2 separate regions of the Homo sapiens genome follow, and region 2 is linked to region 1. Evidence: promoter capture Hi-C in 16 types of primary human blood cells and fetal thymus (Javierre and others, 2016). All regions are on one chromosome and are shown on one strand. The core of a region is centred on a gene start or on the middle of the fragment in contact, and the rest is flanking DNA. Distances in the headings are between cores, read along the strand shown. Region 1 holds the start of SP1 (Sp1 transcription factor). Region 2 overlaps LOC124902934 (a long non-coding RNA gene).

What was found. The method cuts DNA at HindIII sites, captures the fragments that hold promoters and counts their contacts. A CHiCAGO score of 5 or more calls a contact.
Region 2: a fragment that was not itself captured here is called in contact with the fragment with the promoter of SP1 in region 1 in 1 of 17 cell types (fetal thymus); the score reaches 5.2 in fetal thymus.

Annotation. Positions count from the first base shown.
Region 1 is chr12:53,377,365-53,384,329 of GRCh38, forward strand. SP1 (Sp1 transcription factor) reads left to right here and starts at 2,812. Exons shown (of 6, transcript NM_138473.3): 1 at 2,812-2,934; 2 at 4,295-4,449; 3 at 4,746-6,258. The coding sequence starts at 2,928. RefSeq lists enhancers at 1,905-2,405, 2,309-2,608, 2,441-2,735, 3,586-4,344, 4,757-5,006 and a silencer at 2,849-3,478. The HindIII fragment of the contact is 463 bases long and covers 2,492-2,954 here.
Region 2 is chr12:52,030,881-52,037,072 of GRCh38, forward strand. LOC124902934 (a long non-coding RNA gene) reads left to right here. Exons shown (of 2, transcript XR_007063311.1): 2 at 1,888-2,593. It also overlaps a transcript of NR4A1 not described here. Among named protein-coding and RNA genes, the nearest start is that of NR4A1, 17 kb to the right of the region's middle. RefSeq lists silencers at 2,117-2,446, 6,114-6,192. The HindIII fragment of the contact is 1,305 bases long and covers 800-2,104 here.

The DNA.
Region 1 (6,965 bases), core at 1,562-4,061:
TTTTCCTGCTTCAGCCTTCCGAGTAGCTGGGACTATAGGCATGCACCACCACGCCCGACTAATTTTTGTATTTTTAGTAGAGATGGGGTTTCACCATGTTGGTCAGGCTGGTCTCGAACTCCTGACCTCCAGTGATCTGCCCGCCTCTGCCTGCCAAAATGCTGGGATTACAGGCATGAGCCACTGCGCCCAGCCTTCTTGGTGTGTTTTAAACTAGGTTTAGGGCCTAATCACTTGAAAGAGCTACTTAAAAATAGGTTTAGGGTGGAAATCTAGGAATCTGCCTTTTTTGAAAAAAGAACCCAGAGGATTCTGAGAGTGTGTGACATTTCATTTTGAGAAACCTTGATACAGTGAGAGATGAAATTAATTGTCATGTATTCTGATAAATTTTATAATAAAGGTATCTAAGAGGATGATGCCATTTGATCCGTCCTGGGAGTAGGCTTTTTTTTTTTTTTTTCAGGAGCTAGACAGTAAAAATTAAAAAGCATCTATATATTTACTTTTTTTTTTTTCTTTGAGATGGAGTTTCACTGTCGTTGCCCAGGCCCGAGTGCAATGGCACGATCTTGGCTCACTACAACTTCTGCCTCCTGGATTCAAGCGATTCTCCTGCCTCAGCCTCCCAAGTGGCTGGGATTACAGACATGTCCCACCATGCCTGGCTAGTTTTATATTTTTAGTAGAGACGGGGTTTCTCCATGTTGGTCAAGCTGGTCTTGAACTCCTGACCTCAGGTGATCCGCCTGCCTCGGCCTCCCAAAATGCTGGGATTACAGGCATGAGCCACCGCGCCCAGTCTATATATTTACTTATTTTGGAGCAAGGTCTTGCTTTGTTGTCCTGGCTGGAGTGCAGTGGCAGGATTTGAGCTCACTGCAGCCTCAACCTCCTGGGTTCAAGCGATTCTTCCACCCCAGCCTCCCGAGTAGCTGGGACTACTGGCGCACATCACCACGTCTGGCTAATTTTTGTTATTTTTTGTGGAGACGGGGTTTCACCATGTTGCCCAGGCTGGTCTTTAACTCCTGGGCTCAAGCGATCCGCCCGCCTCGGCCTCCCATAGTGCTGGGATTACAGGTCTGAGCCATTGCGCCCGGCGGCAGTTTAATTCCCTCAAGAATTTATAGAAAACTTTTGGTGGAACTATTCTGGGTTGGAATCTAACACTACAACTCATTTGCTTTGTGACCTTGGGTAAGTCACTTCTCAGCCTAAATGTCTTCACTTATAAAATACATAATATAGCTGATACTTAATAAAATCTTCCTTTTAAGGATGACATGGAATACTAACTGCCTCCCTGACTTAGGCACCTAACACGGTAGGCAGTCAGCAATCACTTCACCTTTTTACCTGTTTAAAGCAGCAGAGGCCTCAGTTCTTACCTTCAAAGGGCTTAAAATAGTTTAGGAGAATTCACATTTTAAAACATAAGAACATATAAGCAGGTGACAACATATAAGATACAAATACTGAAGGACATGACCTCATCGTGTCATTGACAAGCTATTAAGGCCGGCTCCACCAAAACACGGATAAAGAGGAGGCCAGAAATCCAGGTGCCTGCAGTAAAGTTTCTTAACCTTCGTGATTGCAAAAAGCTGGAGCTCAGCTATCTTGCTTTATGCATAGGCGGTATTTACTATTAAGGGGGAAAAAATGGAAGTGACTTATCCGCACTTTAGCCTCAAGGCTTGAAAAGTTAACCAGTCGTTTAAGTGGTTAGCGCCTTTGTCTGGGGGAACTTAATAAAATCGCGTTTTCTGGAGTCTCACGGAGACTCTGCATATTGGTCAGCTCAGTATTAACTTATTCGGTGAGTGCTGTCACCAGATCTCGTCCCGCCTGCATTCCCAGGGCTTGCAGCGACATTGAGGCATCTGCCCGCCTGTCCGACCACCCGGGAGGGGGGTAAGATTTGAGAGGTACTTTATAGGGGCAGTTAAATGAAGACGCAAACAAGTCCTAGTGTTGATGCGGAACTGCGCGCCGAATGCCTTGGCTCTGACACCTGTTGAGCTGCAGGACTCCGCTAAAGCGTCCCACCTAATGACTGTAACAACGTCCCCTGAGGAGGGCCAATATGGCGACGGTCTCCTCTTGGCATAGCCCTCTTCCCTCCCTCATGATGGGCAGCTCCAGTAACGCCCATTGGCTAACTAGGAGGCGGTGCCAGGCCTACTTCGTCCCCTCATTGGATTGAATAACTGAGGGAGCCGCCAATTCTCCTCTGCCACTCCAAGTTTCCGCCCTCAGTTAATTCGGCGTTTAATTGGCTTTTAGTTCACGTCAATATGCGTCCTTTCCTGTCTCTTTTCAGTCTAACTCCAATCATAACGTTCCTGGCTGCCCGCCTGATTTCTGATTGGTTTTAATCAGCTTCATCCTCTCCTATTCCTGCCTACTTCTTACCTCTCCGCCCACTAGGATTTTGCCCAAGCATATCCCGGATTCTGGTTGGCCGTTGTTCTGTCATTCCTATCAAAGCTTTGCCTATCCCTACGTCTCAGGGAGCCCGCCTGCCGGTTGACTGGTTTCCTTCCAAGCCAATCATCTCCAGCTCCCGCCCATCTTCACTTCCTGCATCCTTCATTGGCTTTTAACACTGAGAGGGCGGTCTTTTTAGGCGGACACCAGGCACGCAACTTAGTCTCACACGCCTTGGAGAGCAAGCGAGTCTTGCCATTGGATAATTCCACCGTCTTTCTTCTGCAAGTCCCTCCTTTCCCCCTCCCTCATTGGGCGGGGCAGCAGAGAAGGGGCGGGGCCTAGGTTGGGCTTGTGGCGCGCTGCTCCCTCCTCCTTACCCCCCCCTCCCTGTCCGGTCCGGGTTCGCTTGCCTCGTCAGCGTCCGCGTTTTTCCCGGCCCCCCCCAACCCCCCCGGACAGGACCCCCTTGAGCTTGTCCCTCAGCTGCCACCATGAGCGGTAAGGATGAGTCCACTCCAAGCTTAGGGGTGGGAGGCGAGTGAGGGGGCGCGCGCGAGGGCCGACCGGGCGATCCCCGCCGTGAAGCGGGGGCGGGCGGGAGGCGGCGGCGGCGGCGGCCTAGGTCCCGCCCGGGGCGGAGGGAAGGGAGGGAGACGGGGCAGTGGCGGGGCCTCCGAGGAGGAGGGGGATGGGCCGCCCGCCCCGGGGGAGGGGGCAGCGTGGCCTCGCCCGCCCCCTGCCCGCCCCGGCCACGGGGGACGGGCCTTACCCCCCACTACTCGGCCGCCCGCCTGAGGCTCCTCCCGCCGGGGGCTGGAGCCGCGGGGGCGGCCCGAGCAGCGAAGGCCCCGCCCGGGCCAACCGCCTGCCTGGTCCGCCCTCTGGTCGCCGCCTGCTCCAAGGCCCTCCTCCCCCCACTTTCCGTAGATTTCCCTTCCCCCCCGCCCCCCACCGTCCCGCCCTTTCCACGCCCCTCACCCCGAAACCGCCCTTTCCCTCAGGGCCCGCCCTCCGCCCCGAAACCTTCTGACTACTAACCTGTAGATCCCTTTAGTTCCTTAGCAGTATTCACAAATGTTTTTCTACTCACACTTTTTACTTCTTTTTCCCCTCTCGTTACTTTTCACACTTGGATTTTTGTTTGTCTTTTTTTTTTTTTTTTTTTTTGAGACGGAGTTTTCGCTCTTGTTACCCAGACTGGAATGCAATGGTGCGATCTCGGCTCACTGCAACCTCTGCCTCCCGGATTCAGGCGATTCTCCTGCCTCAGCCTCCGGGAGTAGCTGGAATTACAGGCATGCGCCACCACACCCGGCTAATTTTGTATTTTTAGTAGAGACAGGGTTTCTCCATGTTGGTCAGGCTGGTCTCAAAACTCCCGACCCCAGGTGATCTGCCTGCCTCCGCCTCCCAAAGTAATGGGATTACAGGCGTGACCACCGCGCCTGGCCTCTCCATCTCTTTTAAACTTAATTTTAGCAAGCTTTCCATGCACCCACATGTTGTTTTATGCCTTACCTGTCCTTTTCCTTTTTTTCCCTTAGGATACTTTTTCTTATTTAGAAACTCTCACCATGCCTACCGTCCTTCACATTTCCTATCCCCAAAGCACTTTTTGAATGTTTTCTTAGTTTAATTTTGTACAAGGGAGAATTAAGGCCCACTTTTGGCACATTGAACCTAGTTCATGTCCTGCATGCCCTGCAGCTCCCCTCTGCCCTCCAATCCATTTTCTTTATACTGGTGGCTTTCGCCTTCCTGTTAGTCATTGCTATTTCATCATAGCCTCCTTTTATCCTTCCTACTTCATTTCTTTTCTTCCCTCAAGTTTACGTTGTTTGTTTTTTAATTATTTTAGACCAAGATCACTCCATGGATGAAATGACAGCTGTGGTGAAAATTGAAAAAGGAGTTGGTGGCAATAATGGGGGCAATGGTAATGGTGGTGGTGCCTTTTCACAGGCTCGAAGTAGCAGCACAGGCAGTAGCAGCAGCACTGGAGGAGGAGGGCAGGTAAGTGATAATCATAGAGTGGGGAAGGTGTTGAGAAGATGTAAATATTCTTAGATAATTGCCTTACTCTTCACAGAAAGCGTTTTAGGGAGAGACTAAACCATTTTATAGATAAGGAAGTAAGAGAATGGAGATCCCCAAAGACAAAGGAGTTTCAGCAATACAGATAGGTCAGCTTTTTGTTTCTGTTTTTTGCTCCTTGTCTGCACTACGTTGCTGTTTATTTGTTGTATACTGCCCCCTAGGCTGGCAGCTGGGTGTCACTAACTCCTTTCCTCTCCCTTATTTTCGGCCAGGAGTCCCAGCCATCCCCTTTGGCTCTGCTGGCAGCAACTTGCAGCAGAATTGAGTCACCCAATGAGAACAGCAACAACTCCCAGGGCCCGAGTCAGTCAGGGGGAACAGGTGAGCTTGACCTCACAGCCACACAACTTTCACAGGGTGCCAATGGCTGGCAGATCATCTCTTCCTCCTCTGGGGCTACCCCTACCTCAAAGGAACAGAGTGGCAGCAGTACCAATGGCAGCAATGGCAGTGAGTCTTCCAAGAATCGCACAGTCTCTGGTGGGCAGTATGTTGTGGCTGCCGCTCCCAACTTACAGAACCAGCAAGTTCTGACAGGACTACCTGGAGTGATGCCTAATATTCAGTATCAAGTAATCCCACAGTTCCAGACCGTTGATGGGCAACAGCTGCAGTTTGCTGCCACTGGGGCCCAAGTGCAGCAGGATGGTTCTGGTCAAATACAGATCATACCAGGTGCAAACCAACAGATTATCACAAATCGAGGAAGTGGAGGCAACATCATTGCTGCTATGCCAAACCTACTCCAGCAGGCTGTCCCCCTCCAAGGCCTGGCTAATAATGTACTCTCAGGACAGACTCAGTATGTGACCAATGTACCAGTGGCCCTGAATGGGAACATCACCTTGCTACCTGTCAACAGCGTTTCTGCAGCTACCTTGACTCCCAGCTCTCAGGCAGTCACGATCAGCAGCTCTGGGTCCCAGGAGAGTGGCTCACAGCCTGTCACCTCAGGGACTACCATCAGTTCTGCCAGCTTGGTATCATCACAAGCCAGTTCCAGCTCCTTTTTCACCAATGCCAATAGCTACTCAACTACTACTACCACCAGCAACATGGGAATTATGAACTTTACTACCAGTGGATCATCAGGGACCAACTCTCAAGGCCAGACACCCCAGAGGGTCAGTGGGCTACAGGGGTCTGATGCTCTGAACATCCAGCAAAACCAGACATCTGGAGGCTCATTGCAAGCAGGCCAGCAAAAAGAAGGAGAGCAAAACCAGCAGACACAGCAGCAACAAATTCTTATCCAGCCTCAGCTAGTTCAAGGGGGACAGGCCCTCCAGGCCCTCCAAGCAGCACCATTGTCAGGGCAGACCTTTACAACTCAAGCCATCTCCCAGGAAACCCTCCAGAACCTCCAGCTTCAGGCTGTTCCAAACTCTGGTCCCATCATCATCCGGACACCAACAGTGGGGCCCAATGGACAGGTCAGTTGGCAGACTCTACAGCTGCAGAACCTCCAAGTTCAGAACCCACAAGCCCAAACAATCACCTTAGCCCCAATGCAGGGTGTTTCCTTGGGGCAGACCAGCAGCAGCAACACCACTCTCACACCCATTGCCTCAGCTGCTTCCATTCCTGCTGGCACAGTCACTGTGAATGCTGCTCAACTCTCCTCCATGCCAGGCCTCCAGACCATTAACCTCAGTGCATTGGGTACTTCAGGAATCCAGGTGCACCCAATTCAAGGCCTGCCGTTGGCTATAGCAAATGCCCCAGGTAAGATTTCCAATCTTGTGCATTTATTGGGAACCAACTCTAGCATCGTAGCTGAAACTTGAGTCTAAAGAAAGGAATAGAGCCTTTTGAGATAACACTTTCTTGAGGGTTAGTCATTTAGGCAAATAAATTTGAGAAATAGAGATTCTGTTTAAGTAATTTGGAACTGAAGTAAAGGAAACTTCTCCAGTTAGTTTGAGGAAGGAGCACTTCTGGGCAATATTCTGGAGTCTGTAATACTCAGTGTTTTTGGTGCTGCAGAATAATGGTTGACAAGCTTTCTGTAAAGGGCCAGATAGTAACGTAAATATTTTAGACATTGTGGGCCTCATGTGGTCACATTTTCTTTTCTTTTTTTTTTTTTTGAGACAGAGTCTTGCTCTGTCATCCAGGCTGGAGTGCAGTGGCGCGATCTCGGCTCACTGCAAGCTCCGCCTCCCAGGTTCACGCCATTCTCCTGCCTCAGCCTCCCGAGTGGCTGGGACTACAGGTGCCTGCCACCACGCCCGGGTAATTTTTTGTATTTTTAGTAGAGACGGGGTTTCACCATGTGAGCTAGGATGGTCTCGATCTCCTGACCTCGTGATCCGCCCGCCTCGGCCTCCCAAAGTGCTGGGATTACAGGCGTGAGCCACCGCGCCCGGCTTTCTTTTCTTTTTTTTCTTTTTTCTTTTTTTTTTGAGATGGAGTCTTACTCTGTTACCCAG
Region 2 (6,192 bases), core at 202-2,701, 1.3 Mb before region 1:
CAGCTCTGTCCCCCTTAGTCACTGGCCTCCAGCCACTTGCCTTACTCTGCTGCTCTAACAAGCTGGCACTCTTTCATTACTGTTTCCTCTCCCTGCAACTTATCCCTTTCCCCTAACTCTCCACCGACAAACTCCCCTCAGTTTATTTATTTTGAGATAGGGTCTCACTCTGTCGCCCAGGCTGGAGTGCAGTGGTGCTGTCACAGCTCGCTACAGCCTCAGACTCCTGGGCTCAAGTGATTCTCTCACCTCCGCCCTGAAGTAGCTGGGACCATAGTCCCGTAACACCAAGCAGGCTATTTTTTAATTATTATTATTACTTTTAGTAGAAACAAAGTCTCCCTTACGTTGCCCAGGCTGGTCTCAAACTCCTGAGCTCAAATGATCCTCCCATCTCGGCCTCCCAAAGTGCTGAGATTACAGGCATGAGCCTCCAGTGGTGCCCAGCCTTCCCTCAGTTTAAAAGCTACTTCCCGCCAGGCACAGTGGCTCACGCCTGTAATCTCAACACTTTGGGAGGCCGAGGCGGGCAGATCACATGAGGTCAGGAGTGTGAGACCAGCCTGGCCCACATGGTGAAACCCCATCTCTACTAAAAATACAAAAATTAGCCAGGTTTGGTGGCATGCGCCTGTAATCCCAGCTACTCATGAGGCTGAGGTAGGAGAATGGCTTGAACCTGGGAGGCAGAGGTTGCAGTGAGCCGAGATCATGCTACTGCACTCCAGCCTGGGTGACAGAGTGAGACTCCGTCTCAAAACAAACAAACAAACAAATAAAAAAGCTACTTCCTTGGAGAAGCTTTCTCTTATCCATCCCTTGCGAAAATTACAGCTGCCTGTTAAATATCTCACTGACATCCTCCATTTCATTTTCTCTTTATGGTTGTGATGGTTAATTTTTTTTTTTTTTTTTTTGAGACGGAGTCTCGCTCTGTTGCCCAGGCTGGAGCGCAGTGACGCAATCTCAGCTCACTGCAACCTTCGGCTCACTGCAATTTCCGTCTCCTGGGTTCAAGCAATTCTCCTACCTCAGCCTCCGGAGTAGCTGGGATTACAGGTGCCCGCCACCACGCCCAGCTAATTTTGTATTTTTAGTAGAGACGGGGTTTCACCATGTTGGTCAGGCAGGTCTGGAACTCCCGGCCTCAAGTGATCCGCCCGCCTCGGCCTCCCAAAGTGCTGGGATTACAGGCTTGAGCCACCGTGATGGTTAATTTTAAGTGTCAACTTGACTGGGCTAAGGGATGCTCAAATAGCTGGTAAAATGTTATTTCTAGGTGTATTTGTGAGGCTGTTTCTGGAAGAGATTAGTATTTGAATCAGTAGACTGAGTAAAGAAGACCGCCCTCACCGCTATGGGCAGGCATAATTTAATCTGTTAAGGACCTGAATAGAATAAAAAGGCAGAGGAAGGGCAAATTTGCTCTTCTTTGAGGTGGGACACCATATTTTCCCTGCTTCAGACATCCATGCTCTGATTCTTGCACCTTCAGACGCGGACTGGAACTACTCCAGCTTGCGGAGGGCAGATCCTGGGTACTTCTCAGCGTCCATAATCATGGGAGCTAATGCCTCATAATAAATCTTTTTCTATATCTCTGTATATCCATCCTATTGGTTCTGTTTCTCTGGAGAACGCTGGCTAACACCATGGCACTTACTGCTTATGTGCAAGATTGTTGAACATTCATCTCTCCTACTTGGCTGTCAGCCCGGGGACAGGAGCTGTGTCTGTTTTGTTCTGTGCTGTGCTGTGTTTCCAGTGAGAGGGCTGGCCTAGGTGTTTCTCCGAAGTATGTTCCAGCTTTCGGTACCTCTTTATTTCTTATTTCTTCCTTCCCCTGCTCTCCAAGTTGACCTAAATAGTTTTTGCACCTTTTCTTAGGTTCACTGAATCTCCAAGCAGCGAGGTGTATCTGGAAAGACAGCTCAAGAATTAAGGGTGCTCACCCTTAATTACACTCCATTTTCCTCAGGACAGGCTGGAACAGATTTGGGATGGCGAGCCCCCAAACCAGCACTCTACAGATTTCGGGACCCCTCTTAACTCATTTCCCCCATCCTCCCAATGACGTCTATTCGCCTGCAGCAGACCCGAAGGAAGCTTCGGCTCAATGGTTCATTTGCATGCGCCCGTGCTATTGGTCGGAGGGGCGGCACCGTAGCCAATGGTGTGCAGGGGTGTTGACCGAGCCGCAGCTCTGCGCCGCCGGGTGAGGTAATGGAATCCTGGCTGGACCTGCTGCGGCTCCCTCCGGACTGGCTAGTGACGTAGCGGCTTCCCCGGCCCCACCCCGCCCAGCCCGGCCGCCCCCGGGAGCGCAGCTGGGGCTCGGCCCTGTTCCTTCCGGCCCGGCGTTCCGGTCGCGGGCCCCTCAGGGAGGACCCGCCGGGCCAGATCCCATCTCTGGCGACGCGGAGAAAAATCTGGAAGCCGTCGTCGGAGGATGACCAAATCCTCGCTCCTCTGGGAGTGCGATTACGGGCCTCTCACTTCGTAAATCACGCAGGCCTGAAACGCTCACATTTGTTTACCACGAGCATGTTTGATTTTGTAATTTAACAAATAAAATTGCAGAGGATTTTTAAGAGCCCTGGCCTGGATTTAGGGGAAATCTCGCATTAATTCCAGCTCTGCCATTTCCGGTCTGGAGACCTTGGCCACTTTCTCTTGGGGCCCTGACGCCTTCCATGGCAACTAAGTAGAGCAAACGTGGAAGTGCTTCGAAAACACCAAGTGGGGTCTCCTCATCCTTATGCAATCTGGAGAGTGTAACCCCATCTGGGCGGTGTCTCTGGACAGCCCCTGAGCCCTGAGACAGCCCCAGGAAGACCCGTCTTTGTGTCTCTATTTTTTCGGCCCTTAAATTGCTCTTAAGCCTGGGGAGAGGTCGGGGGACCCCGGCCAGGTAGTTCTTGATCCTCAAGAAGAGGAAGGAAACCATGAAGGGAATCCCTTCCACAGCCCCTCTCCTTATTCAGGGCCAGGGCCTGAGCAGGGGAGCCCCTTCTCTGCCCAAATGCCCTAGGGAACCCCCTTGACATCCTTTTACCCCCGCCCCCGAGGGCCAGGATGGAGGTGGAGTGGAAGGGTGTCTCCTAGGTGGGGTGGAGTTTCAGATGCTGTGAGATGGAAGGGCACCTGGGGAGGGCCACTGAGAGTCTGGCTTATGGTCCTGGGTCCTGTGGCTTACCTTGGCCCACTACTTCCCACCCTCAGGATCTCAGCCCTGCCCTGCCGCATACCTAAGGTTTGGGGGCAGCCTCTCTCCTCCATGGAGTGCCTTTTCTCTATACCCTGCCTGGTCCTGTCTCTTCTTTCACACTGGGCCCTACATTCTCTTCCTCCAGGGAGGCCTCTTGAGACTAGTCCTCTAGATTCTACCCCAATGCCAGCTCAAGGCTTCTTGGAGGCCACTTCTTGGATGTCCTGGCAATGTTTCCATACCTATTCTTGTGTCCTGCCTCCCCATCAGACTAGGAGCCAGCTTTCTGTGTAGGAGCTTGTCCTCTAGGAACCTCCCACAATGTGGGGCGTCACTGGCCATGGTGGCCTGTCTCCCCTCTGCTCCGACTCCCTGGGCCATGCACGTTGTTCACCTTTTCTCTCCTCACCTTTCCTATCTGCAATAGGGGCTGTGAAGCAGTGCCTGTAGAAAGGAGAGGAATTAGATATGAAGGAACAAGAGGCTGGGTAGAAAGAGCACTGGCCTGGGAGTCAGAAGACCAGGGCTATGGAGACAGAAGACCAGGGCTATGGTTCTGGCTGGGCAACTCACTAGCTGAGTGACCTGGATCAGGGAGACAACAACAGGGCAGACGTTTACTGGACATTTGTAATGACTAAGAAGCGACATTGCTCCTATCTGTGCAGCCCCCACGGCCCCCAGTATTCCCAATAAACATACTGGCTGGGCAAAGCTAGGGTAAGCACCTTGGATGTACAGCTTCAAGACAAGGTCCCAAGTCCTCCAAGTCCTCCTGTATGGAAATGGCAGATCTGCCATGATGTGCCAGACTCCGCTTCATGCTTTATGTCTGCTCTCAAAGAGGCACTCTCATGGCAACCCTGTGAGATAGGTTTCTTATCATCTTTGTGTTTGAGGTGAGGAAACTGAAGCCCAGAGAGGGCAAGTAACTTCCCTGGAGTCATGCAGCTGGTAAGAGGTAGAGCCTCTTGTGGGTTAGGGAAATGAGACTCCTAGGGCAGAGCAGGGAGGAGAACTAACTCTGAGTGCCTGCTGTGTACAAGGTACCTCCACATCTGTTCAGTCCTCCGACAACCAGTGTCCATCCCAGACCTCTAGAGACTGCTTCTTCCACCATCTCACGCCGCCTCCACATGCCACCCAAAGCGTGCGTGTTCTGGCATTCCACATTTTAGAATATGTTTTATTTGATTATAAATAGGAGAATATATAATAAAGACAAGTTATGCTAAAAGTATTTATGGAAAGGAGAGACCTCTGTGGGCTGGAAGCCTTCATGGAAAAACTGGTAACTGAGCCCTTTTTTTCCCTTCCTGTCTAAATAAATGTATTTCTCCCACACAGGCAAATATTTTAAAATGTATTTCAAAAGTTAGACTTCTGGAAAAAGAAAGGAAAAGAGGGGGTGGGGTAGCTGCTCCTCTAAGAAGCCCATGTGAAAGAAGCTGCTGGGGTAGGAAACAGGAGGGCACAGGGTGAGTGAGGAAAAGTCAGTCCCTTTCCCCCACCCCAACGCCTTGTCATTTTTGAAGCCTCAGTTTCTTTATCTGCAAATTGACCTAATACTTGAACCTGGGAGAGAAATGTACAGGTTCTTGGGATGTGATTTTGAGAGACAAACTCTGCAGAGGTTCTTGGAATCATTATGAAGAATGAGAGAAAGGGAATTCTGAGTTGCGCCAAGAGTTTAGGATTTGTCCAGCAAAGGATTTCTGGGGGTGGGCAGTGGGGTGGAGAGAGGAATGCAGCCCCTGGAATGAGGGCTGAGTGGAGGTGTGGGGCCTCTTTTGGAGAATTTTGAGCACAGAAGAGATTCTTTGCTGCGTGGGGCCTGGGCTGGGTGCTGGAGATTGTATAGCATGCTCATAATTTAAGGTGGCTCCAAAAAGGATCAGGGGCTAGTGGCTGGCACAGCAGAGCACATGACTGGATCCTCCCTAATGGGTGTTCCCCAATGACCTTGCCTGTACGGGGGTATAGGAGCAGAGATGGTAACCCCCAACCCCACCCAGCCAGCCCCAATCCCATTGCTCCAACTTTGGCCGGGCCTTCCTGACCAGCCTCTCCTGAGTGGGCAGCTGCTGGGGGAGAAGGATTTGCTCAGGACAGGATGGTTCTTCCATTTCCAAAGAGGGCTCCAGTCACATGGGAGAGAGAAACCTTCCAAGTGCCTGCACCCCCAGGAAAATTCTTACCATGGAAGCCTGGGCCTGAAGACTCTGGTCAGAGGAGGGTGGGCTTCCCAGGGCTTCCTGGTCACGGTGGTGGGCCTCTGAGTGCATGAAGCACTCCTTTGGATTGGGGAGAGCAGGGAGAACTAACTCAGTATCTACTGTGTACAAGGCACCTCCACAGCTGTTATCATCCTGACAGCCAGATATGGTGGATAATCTGATCATATCATGTTTTAGAGACGAGGAAGCTGAGGCTCAGGAGGTCAAGTGACTGTCCTAAGTCACACAGTGGTATGGGAGCAGCCAGATCAGTGAATCCATCACCTGGGCTTTGCCGGGGCCTGCACCCCCGCCTCGGGAAGTGCCCTCTTCAGGAGAAAGTCCTATTTCTCTGTAAGCTGCCTTCTCGTGTGGAAGCTGGGTGCCCTGCTACCTGGGTTCCTTGCCCTTGGGGTGGCATGAATGCCAAGCGATGCAGGCAGGGCGCCCGCAGACTCAAAGGCCAGGCCCTGTCCTCGCCAGCAGCCGAATCGCTGTGACTTTGGACCGCCACCGAGTCTCTCTGGGCCTCGCTCTTTCCACCTCTTCCTGGGGAAGCCCCGGCTAAGTTTCTTTATAACCTAGCCCCAGGTGCCCAGCCTCGGAAGGTGTGAGCGAGACCTCGGCACCCTCACCTGAGAACCAGCTCCCCGGCTCTGGCCGCGGGTTATGTAACCGGGTGTGCGGCGTGGGGGGAGCCGCGGGGCGGGGCGCTCGCGGCTATTCCGGGCGCCGCTATTTTTAGCCCCATTGATGAGGCTGCGTCGG